3 separate regions of the Homo sapiens genome follow, and regions 1 and 3 are each linked to region 2. Evidence: promoter capture Hi-C in 16 types of primary human blood cells and fetal thymus (Javierre and others, 2016). All regions are on one chromosome and are shown on one strand. The core of a region is centred on a gene start or on the middle of the fragment in contact, and the rest is flanking DNA. Distances in the headings are between cores, read along the strand shown.

Region 1 (3,333 bases), core at 237-2,736, 180 kb after region 2:
GAATGATAGATGTACACCATCTTTTCTTGAGCTTCATCCTTTGGGGAAAAAATAAATGCATTAGGCCATCAACAACACAACACTGAAGGTGTCAGTACTAGGAAGGTTTTCCAATAGGTCAACACCAAAAAAAATTTCAAAAGCCTTGGTGCTCAAGTGAAATTTATTGAATACTGTAAAGAATCCTTTTGGCAAAAAGTGACGGGTGTGTGCATCCACACAATGTCTATACTTCATTAGTCACCACAGGTTACTATTTGTATGTGGCAATTAATGGGCATTCTAAGTTGTTAAAACAGCTGGAGTGCTACCTGGAAGAGCATCTTCAGGATTTAATGAAAAAGCAGTGATTTATGTATCAACTTATCAATGAAATCCTCAGTTTTTTTAATCATACCTGCACTATCTTTTTTGAATAAAAAAATCTGACATTTCTAGGTATAAACTGACAATTTATAATCATGAAGTCATTAACTCCTGAGAAATACCAGCTGTGTGATCGATAAAAAACTCCATTTCAATTACACTACCCTCCCAAATGGTCCCTATCTCCCTTCACTCCCCATGTTACACAGTGCAGTTTATTGTCTCTTCCAGAGCCTTTAGTCATTCTTTGTCACCTCTTAGATAAGGGCAAAAAAATCTTAGCCTAGCGTACAATGTCTCAAACTGACTGGTTATCAGAATCACTATTTTTTTTTTAGACAGGGATGTAGGAATGTGTACTTTTGAGGATGTATATATATATATATATATATCTATTCATGTATATTCATATATATATTCCAACTCTGGCCCTGACGGCTGGAACAATCTGGTTATCGAGACATGTTGAGTGCCCCTCTCATCCCCCTTGATCATTCATGGGATAGCTCCTTAGAGAGCTGATTAGGAGGAATGAGGTGGAGCCATATGGTATGAGATCGTTCCAAGGTCTTTAGGACTGTACAGGGAGCTCTATCAAAACATAAATCCAAAGGCTCCAAGACCAGATGAAACCCAGGAATTTATAATTTTAAAAAGCTTTCCAATTGACTCCATGATCAGTTAGCCAGTTTGGGGAATCACTGGGCTAGGAAGCAAAATTACAGAATATATACTTTGTTCTCCATAATCTACAGGATAGAGTTTAAGGAGATGCAACAATATCCACAAAACCACATAGAAATATAGATCTGCACAGTGTGGAGGACTGGGGCTGAGAAACTCAGGAATGAGGTCTGTGGCTGTCCAAGCAAGAACAGTAAGGCCCGAAGTAGGATGAGAAGCAAAGACCAGACATTAATCACCACATAAAGGGGATGAAGGAAGGTTCTGTGAGGATGAGGGCAAGAAAATATGGAATTGGAACTGTGAGATTTGGTCATCATCTGACCTGAAGAAATGGCATTAAACTGAATGCAGGTGGATTCCTAAAGAAGGGCAGAGACCAGTGGTTAATCTAATAACCTGAGGCCTCTGATGAAAAACACCCTGAGAAGACAGGAAATCTCCTCCTCTTGGATACTCACAGATTGATCTTGATCCGGCAGTACTGTGAGGACAATGTGGTCTTTAAACTGCAGTCTCACTACACTGTCCAGCCTCGGTAACTTTCCACCTAGAAAACCCCAAAGAGAGAAAGCCGACCTTCAAAAAAGGAAACAGGCAGATTCAAACTTGCTTATACATACACATAGGAAACACATTTACTAACAATTTACAGGTGAATCCAAACATGGCATACACTCCAACTGAAGAATTTGCTTACCCCAACATTGTACTGATATTATAGTTCACATCATTATGCAGCTCATTCTTACAGTGAAGACAGACATAGATAAATAATGTAAGTTTATAAGTACAATAAATAGACAAAAATAATACCATCGAAGTACAGTGGCTATCATAGCACATAAGGCTGTGGTGCTTTCTGCACAGAACACTCACTCCTCCAGGTTCTGTCCTCTACAAGCTTCTCGCTCAACATATGGACTCTGGAAGTACTACCTGAGTTCAAAATTGCACTACTCCACCAATTATTAGGTGTGTGACCCTGGTCAATTATTCAGTCTATGTAAGTCAAGAATAGTATCCTATAAAAGCCATCTAATAAAGTCCACAGAAAATTTTTTTTTTCCAAATTGGATTTAACTTAGTGGAACAATACCCAATAAAAACAGACTAGCCTTACAGGGTCATCTGCGTGGGGAAGGAGTCGTGAGGGATCATCACTTTATTGAGTATAATGCCTAAGATAAGGAAAACACTGAAGTAGTCTGGGCCATAAGCTGGTGCATAAGCAAACTGTTCTGCTAAAGATTAAACCATGTGCTTGTAAAACATTTGCTATTTTGAATAGATACAATCAAAAACAAATTCTAAGCTTCCTCCAAAGACTATGATAAAAATGTATATAGAATCAGTGTTGGAAGGGACCTTATAGATTATCTATCTCAGTGGTTCTCTCTTGGTCATAATTAAGAGTTTTATTAAAGTTAGTAAAAAATACTCTTTTCACTCAACCCTGAGAAAGAACAGCAGCCAAAAAGCTGGCCTGGCACTCACAGCTAGGTCTTTGTGTTCTCCTGTTGAACACAGGCAATTCCACAGAATGCTAACATCAGAGATCACTGTCACCATGATAGGTCAAAACAAAACACCACCACTCCGTACATACTCATGTCTGGACTCAGGCAAGGCAAGAACATATTCCAAACCACAACACTGACCGAACATCCCCCTACTCTGGCTAATGAGTGACCACTTCCGCTTTACCATTGATAACTTCAGCCTCATACATTCCTCCTGCCTACCAGATAACATTTAGGAGACTTAATCATAGAATCCCTTCCATTTCCTGACAGCATCCAATCCAGAGCAAAGCCCTGCTTCCTTGAACCCTCTCCAAAATCACCTAACATACACCTGAGTCCTATAAGTCTTTTCTAACACCGTTTTACTGAGATGCCCTGCAGTTCTCAATGGTGTGTGGTCTTCCCACTGCAACAAGTCAATAAATCCAATTTCGTCTGAATTCAGGAGTATGTTCTTGGTGGTCTTTGCTATAGGATACTGACATCATCCATCTGGAAGTCATCAATGACATCATCCATCCAAAAGTATGTTATATCATTTGCAGCCTAAATCTGTCATAAATTAGGCACCTGTGCCTTGGAGAAGGTTGATGATAATCTTGGACATTTCTTGAATCTCACTGGCTGATGGTAACAATTTTACCCATGCTATGATTTGGATGTTTGTCCCATCCAAATCTCATGTTCAAATTTGATCCCCAGTGTGGAGGTGCAGCCTAAGGGGAGGTGTTTGGGTCACATTGTGGGGAGCAGATCC
Region 2 (3,536 bases), core at 28-2,527:
GTTTTTGTCTTTCAACAAGAATCACTAATCCAGAGCCGCTTTTGTTTTTTCGCTGTAAAAATGACAATTACATTTGGAAATTTGGAGAAGTGACAAAAGATAAATCACCCCATAATCACACGCTTACAACCGTCCCCCCTACCATATTACTTTGAAATAATTCCTTCTAGTCTCTTTTTGCACCCTCCTAGTCCATTTAATAGGCCAAATGAATTGACAGGCCAAAGAACAGGCAGTGCAGTAAACATACACTAGCTAGTTGAAAAGGGTCGCGCGGTGGGGGGCAGGGGGTCGGAAATCCTACACCCATGCAAACAAAAAAAATGAAGAGATACAAACCCCTATTTGAAGAATGAGGCCATTCGCTGGGGGTGAGGTTAGTGGAGTTGGGCAGATTGAAAGGCTAGATCTTTAAAATGACTGCATCTGTAATGTGTCCGTTGGAAAACGCAGTAATAAAAGATGTGGGGAAGGGTATGCCTAAATATTTTCTATTTGAAGACCATTTGTGACTATGACTATAAAATCCAAGTGCAATTTAAGAAGGTGGTCAACTTTAAGTATTGACTATTAATACCTTTCCTGACCACCTGCCGATTTGATTCTGGAGACTGTAATCTACTCACAGGAGATTATGCCTGGTAGAAATCTCTTCGGGAGACCACACAACTAAGAAGCAGGGGTACAGGCATACTTTATTAGCCGAATAACACCTTTTGACTTTTTACACCAGTTCTCCCCTCTACCTTCCTGTATTAACAGTTTTACCTCTACAGGGACTCAGGGTGGGAGGCCTATCAGAACCCAGAGAAGAGTCGGTGCGATGGGCAACTGGGGAACTCCGGCGCACATCTTGCCCCAGGGGGGACAGTATCGTCTTGCAGTCGTTGCCACAACGCTACGCTGGTGCCCGGTAACGACACTCTCCGCGCCACACCCAGCGCCAGCCTCTTGGATCCCCAGGAAGACCAGGGCCGAGCGACAAACACGCAGCACACGCGAACGCCAAACGCTTCCCAGAAAGCTGTGCGCGAGCCTACAACTCCCATGATGCTACGCCGGGAACTGCCCGGCTCCTCGCAGGAAATAGGCAGCTCACCCTGCCACCTGTGCACACATTTTTCTTCAATGTATAGTTCCTCGGCGCGCCTCTGACCTTTTCCCGGAGCTCTTCAATCCCAGAAGCTATAGCACAACGGCTGAATCGCCAGGACCCCCGGGGAGGCGTGGCTTCAGGACCGGAAGAAGCTCCTGTTGCCAAGGGAACGGTGCCTGCCAAGGCGCCTGCTCAGCGACTGATGCACAGACTGCTGCAGAGGCTGCCGGTTTTCCCAACTTCTAGAGACGGCTTTGCTCATTACCAGGCATCCTTCCCATGTAGGCATCGAGAAGAAGGCTGAGGGACCCTCGCACCAGATTTCCATCCCGGAGACCGATACGAGTGCGTCCATTCCTGTTGCCAGCTCCTGCGCCCTCCGGACTAACCTCAAAAACCAGGTATCTCCTCAACGCCGGTTTTTAAAGCCAGCGCCACCCTCTGTCCCCGTCAGTTTTAGAATTCCTCTTTGGTCTTTCCCATGTTTTTCACTCCACGCGTGTAGTTGTTGCTAATGTATGAGAAGTAGAAAAGAAGGTGAGTTATAGAGGCCCTAGAAAACTTACTAAACTGGTTTGGACGTATGTTTGGTTGATGGGTTTTAACAATGCTCAACTTAGACCCGTGTATTGGGGGTGTGTGTGTGTGTGTGTGTGTGTGTGTGTGTGTGTGTGTAAGTGTAATTTAAATTATATCATAAAAAACTGAAAGCCGAATAAGAATGTTTATTTGGGGTAATAAAAGTAGGCAACATTTCAATCAACAAACACTTTACAGAGTTTACTAAGTATCATTCGTGGTGTTTTCTCTGGGCTACCACTCTGTCTCTGCAGCTTACCCTCTAAGCTGTTAACTGTGGATAACATCCTAATTCTTCTGGACTTCTCTGGCAATATGTAATCCTTTAGGAAACAGTCTGTCAGACAATAACCAAGAGAATTTGGCTGGTGTGCAAAGAGAGGGTTACAGTAAGATAAGAAACAAGAAAGGAAGATTGGAGCCAGATTGTGGACAACCTTAAAAGCTGTGCTTGGAAGTTTGAAACTACTGGCTTTATTCTGAAAGCCAGTAGTTCTCAATAGTAACTTCACATCAGAAACACTGGGTAGCTTTTAAAACTACAGATGCCCTGATCTTATTTTCAAAAATTCGGATTCAGCAATTGATTTCAGAGTGCAGCCAGGGTTGAGAATCATGGCTATCAGAGTAGGAAGCTGCAGAAAACAGTTGTGTCTCTCGCTGCACACTTAAGACACGATTAACAAATATTGACTGGCTTCAATTATCTTTTATTTATGCATGCAGAAAGTCAACTTATGGAAGGAAAATTATAACTACTTGAAACGTAGAAGTTTAAAGGCTCTATGATAGTTGTTTATAAAGCAATTTCAATAAATGTGATTACCTCTTTTAGAAAAACTGCCTGCTCTTCTAAATTGTGTGTCCCAAAATATTTCATTAACAAGTATCAAGTGATAATCCATGGAAAAGTGATGGAAAGTCACAATACAAGGTACTGTGAAAAACGAATATTCAAGCATCAGGCTTTAAACACTCAGTGCTTTATAGTAGATGCTTAAAGGGGGGAAAATGTGAGAAGTTGTCGTTTTTAAAACATAAGTTCTAAATTATGAAATGGAGAACAAGATATAAGCATTTATATCAATATGTTTATGCAGTAAATAAAGTGAGTAATAGCAAATTTACTTTGAAATCAAATGGTATGTGTGAATTGCTTCATGACATCAGAAGGTTAATTTAAAATAGATTTTACAAATGCTGGTCCTTAAGCTGTAATTTAAAGAAATGGACTGAATAAGATTTGAATCTCTGATACAAGGAGAAAAGCAGATTGAAGTGGCACAAATGGAAGTACCTGAGGTCAAACTCATCCTTGGGGAAAGACAAACGTGGTTCTGTAATAGGCCTCACCTTTTGGCATGGCACTGTTCCATCTCTTCTCTGCACATCACTGAAATTTAGTTTTGAAATTTCTACCCATAATCATATCCCAAAAGGCCTAAGCAAAATGTTGACTATGCAACCTCCTTTTAGATACAGTTGTCTTGGAAGCCTGTTATTGATAAAGTTGCTGCAGCCTCACATCCTTCAAGGTATGGCCTTGCCTGAAATTGTATGGAATAAAAAGTATTGAAGAAACTGTAATATGACAGGTTGCTTATGCAACCTTAGATGGAGATGAGAATAAGTCAATTTAATGAGAATAAAAACATTAGAGAACTAATGTTGGTGAGTAATGAGAAATATTTGGTACATAGATATATTGTAGCAGTTCCTGCAGCAGTTGGGGGCTGGAAAAAGGGATCTATCTCCCTGTCCTTCTACCACAAAGTAATGGTTTGGGGAGCAATGGACCCAAAGTGAGCTCCTTTGAAAAGTTTAGTTTGGAGACCTGAAGTGTAAATTTAACAGTACCTTA
Region 3 (3,688 bases), core at 578-3,077, 250 kb after region 2:
TTACAAAAATAATACACAGAATCTAAATTTTAAATTTTAACACTCTGAAAATCACTATATAAGCTACAGTTTATGTATCAACAATACTTATTCTAAAGCATATATAAAAACAACTTTTGAAAGTTTTATAAGAACACACATGTAAAATATTCCAGAAAATGGAATGAAATTCAAGGATTCATGTACGTAAAAATGGCCATCAAATGAGTGGATTGGATAAACAACAAACTAAATCTTTTCAGATGGAAAATGGAGTTTGAAAAGAAAATAACTTAACTTTTCCCAATCATGGAAGAGCTACTCCTTGGTTTTATTAAAAAGAGTCTCACTCTGCCACCCAGGATTAATTGCAGTGGTGTGATCTTGGTTCAGTATAACCTCCACCTCCCAGGTTCAAGTTATTTTCCTGCCTCAACCTACTGAGTAGCTGGGACTACAGGGATGTGCCACCACACCCAGCTAATTTTTTTTGTATTTTCAGTAGAAACAGGGTTTCCTCATGTTGGCCAGGCTGGTCTCGAACTCCTGACCTCAAATGATCTGGCCACCTTGGCCTCCCGAAGTGCTGGGATTATAGGCATGAGCCACTGCTCTTGGCCCAAACATTAAATTGTTTACTACTTTGGGTAGAATGGAGATAAAAAACTAAAATTCAAACCAAATACAAAATTGAAACCAAACCAAAACATATTCATAAGCTGCATCTTACTAGTAGGTACCAGTTAGGGCCTTTATCATTAACTCCTGAAAGTGGTGTAGTATTGAAAGAAAAGGAAAGAGATCCATCTAAAGAGGATGACGGAAAAGATAGCAATTGAGGACAAAGAAATGAGATGGAAAAAGCAATTTAAATATAAAGACACATAGCCATTGGGTAAGAACACGTGATAGAGTTTGGATGTTTGTTCCCTCCAAATGTTGTGTTGGAATTTGATACCCAGTGTTGGAGGTGGGGCTTGAAGGGAGGTGTATTAGTCCATTTTCACACTGCTATAGAGAACTACCTGAGACTGTGTAATTTATAAAGAAAAGAGGTTTAATTGACTCACAGTTCTGCATGGCTGGGGAGGCCTCACGAAACTTACAACCACGGCAGAAGGCAAAGGGGAAGAAAGCACCTTCTTCACAGGGCAGCAGGAGAGAGAGCATGTGCAGGGGAAACTGCCACTTTCAAATAATCAGGTCTCATGAGAACTCTTTCACTATCACAAGAACAGCATGGGGGAAACTGCCCCCATGATCAAATCACCTCCCACAAGGTCCCTCCCTCAACATGTCAAGATGAGATTTGGGTGGGGAACACAGAGCCAAACCATATCAGGAGGTATTTAGGTCTTGACGGCAGATCCTTCAGGAATAGCTTGGAGCCATCTTCTTAGTAATGAATGAGTTCTCAATTATTTCCCATGACAGTCTTCTCCCTTCTTCACCCCTGCCACCTGGAGCTGGTTGTTGAAAGAACCTAGTACCTCCCCCACCCCCCATTCCTCCTTCTCTTGCCATGTGATGCCTGCTCCCGTTCACCTTCCACCATGAGTAGAAGCTTCCTGAGGCCCTCACCAGGAGCAGATGGCGGTGTCATGCTCCTTGTATGGCCTGCAGAACCATGGGCCAAGCAAACCTCTTTTCTTTATAAACTGCCCAGCCTCAGGTATTCCTTTACTGTAACACAAACAGACTAAGACAACAAGGAAACAGGTGCTGAAAATTTGAAGCTGTAAAGGCACCCTTTATTTGGGATAGAAAAACAAACTGAAGGGGGCTCAACCAAACTCTGAAACTACATTAACAAATTAATAGATCAAGAGTGAGTAAAAAGGAAATATATCTGAAAACAAATATGTAGGTGCTTGTATGTATAAGCTAGCAATGTTATTAACTATTCTTAGAGCAAAAAAACTGAAAAACCTAAAATCACTTAAATGAAAAATGTCTCTGGTAATTATGTAAACAAGGAAAGTGGTCCTAAATTGGGAATAGAGAAAATAAAATGGAAAATTACGGTTGATAATATTAAAACATAAAAATAGCCAAAGTGATTAAGGGACGGGAAGAAGAAACAGAAAAGCAAGGCATGCAAAATGTCATAGAAGACAGAAAAAGGCTAACAGGAAGCTTGAAGATAAGGGATCAGTTTCAAGTTTTATGGATATTTCATAGAGTGAATAATACTCTAGGAAAATACAGATGTTTCATTGCAAAATTAAATAATGGCAGTCTTTTTTAGATTTCTAGAAAAATATAAGGGAGTAGACAAATTTTTAATTAAATTTTTAGTCCCATGAACTTAAAAAAATTCTTTGTCCTCTGCTACTGGTTGTCTACAGATAAGCAAAATTAATATCATTTGATATATTTGAAAGCAGTCCATCAATGCTGGTTCAACTGTTTATTATTTTACAGGCAAGGACTCATGATTCGGATTTCATATCGCACATATAGTATGGTCATCCTTCTGTTTATACAATTGTTCCCAGTTCTTGCTACATTGGTAAATATATCATGATGTTCTACAGTGTTCCACCACTAGAAATCCATTAGAAGGAAAATAGAAGAGTAGAAAAGGAATGAGAATTCTAATCAAGGTTAGAATGAAGAGGATGGAAGAGAGCACAGCAATCATGACCCTATGATTAATCAAAGTAGGAGACATAAATAACATACATAATTAAAATGATTTATTAAAACACTAGTGATTTTGACACTGCCGAGTTTCTGTCTTTTCAGAAAAAGAGCAATATCCCATGAAGAAACTTACCATGTTAGTCTCTGAAATGCTGTCAATGCTTTCAACATGGACATCTATACCTACTGGCACTGGAGACCCTTAAGAAAGAAGAATGGTTAATATGCTGAGGAATGCATTATAATCATTTTAAAACCATTTAAAACAGAGAGATTAATTCTCTTGGACAGCAACTGAATTACTGTTAAAGTTTTTTTAAACAACAAATTTCTCCATTATTCATTGAATCAGTTATTATATACTCAATTATTATAATAAAGGCACATGTGTAAATAAATGGTATTCTAATAATCATTACTCATTTGCTTGGGATCATGCCAATAATTTCCTCCTCTAGTATAAGAGTGGTGCCTCCAGTTTTCTTTTTTTTTTTTTTTTAGTTTTTTATTCTTTTTACCTACTAGTGATTTAAAAAGGAAAAGTGTTTTGAAAACATGTCTTAAGAGTATGTAGAATTATGTACTCTTAAGTACAAATATGGTAATGGTCATATCTCATAGTCAGGGAGTGTCATAGAATCCTTGACGTGGGCAATGTTGGGACCTTTTCTCTGGTGTCAAAAATATCAGCCTTTTCCATTTGTGCTGTGGTTGGTGGAGTAGAGGAACACAGAGAAAATTTTATTGAGACTAAAAGTACAGTGCCACACAGGGACAACACAGATCAGATTCCGAAGTGTCCCTTTGCAGATCAGCAGCAACCACAGGCTGCATTTGTGAAGAAGCAAATATCCTTAGAAATCCATTTAATGAGAAAATACTGAGAGTAGAATTGGAGCAATTTCAGACAGAGCACTGCTGACACTTGTACAGTTGAGTCACCCAGAATCAGGTTCATGGGCCCAGAAAACCTGAATGACAACCAACAGAATCCAGACTAGACTGACATTTCCTAGTTACACCTAACAAACGATTTCACCACTTCCAGTGTGAGTCGAAATTG

Evidence for each region. Contacts are between HindIII fragments. The CHiCAGO score rates a contact against its expected background, and 5 or more counts as called.
Region 1: a fragment that was not itself captured here is called in contact with the fragment with the promoter of ARL6 in region 2 in 1 of 17 cell types (non-activated CD4 T cells); the score reaches 5.4 in non-activated CD4 T cells.
Region 3: a contact is called between a fragment that was not itself captured here and the fragment with the promoter of ARL6 in region 2, in 15 of 17 cell types (total B cells, activated CD4 T cells, non-activated CD4 T cells and 12 more). The highest score is 13.8, in total B cells.

Annotation. Positions count from the first base shown.
Region 1 is chr3:97,945,850-97,949,182 of GRCh38, forward strand. It overlaps RIOX2 (ribosomal oxygenase 2), which reads right to left. Exons shown (of 10, transcript NM_153182.4): 8 at 1,512-1,600; 9 at 1-38. Among named protein-coding and RNA genes, the nearest start is that of RIOX2, 25 kb to the right of the region's middle. The HindIII fragment of the contact is 931 bases long and covers 1,022-1,952 here.
Region 2 is chr3:97,763,481-97,767,016 of GRCh38, forward strand. ARL6 (ARF like GTPase 6) reads left to right here and starts at 1,278. Exons shown (of 8, transcript NM_001278293.3): 1 at 1,278-1,497. RefSeq lists enhancers at 609-1,110, 746-1,285, 1,111-1,610, 1,326-1,435. The HindIII fragment of the contact is 6,880 bases long and covers 1-3,536 here.
Region 3 is chr3:98,014,897-98,018,584 of GRCh38, forward strand. It overlaps GABRR3 (gamma-aminobutyric acid type A receptor subunit rho3), which reads right to left. Exons shown (of 10, transcript NM_001105580.3): 4 at 2,759-2,826. Among named protein-coding and RNA genes, the nearest start is that of GABRR3, 19 kb to the right of the region's middle. The HindIII fragment of the contact is 572 bases long and covers 1,542-2,113 here.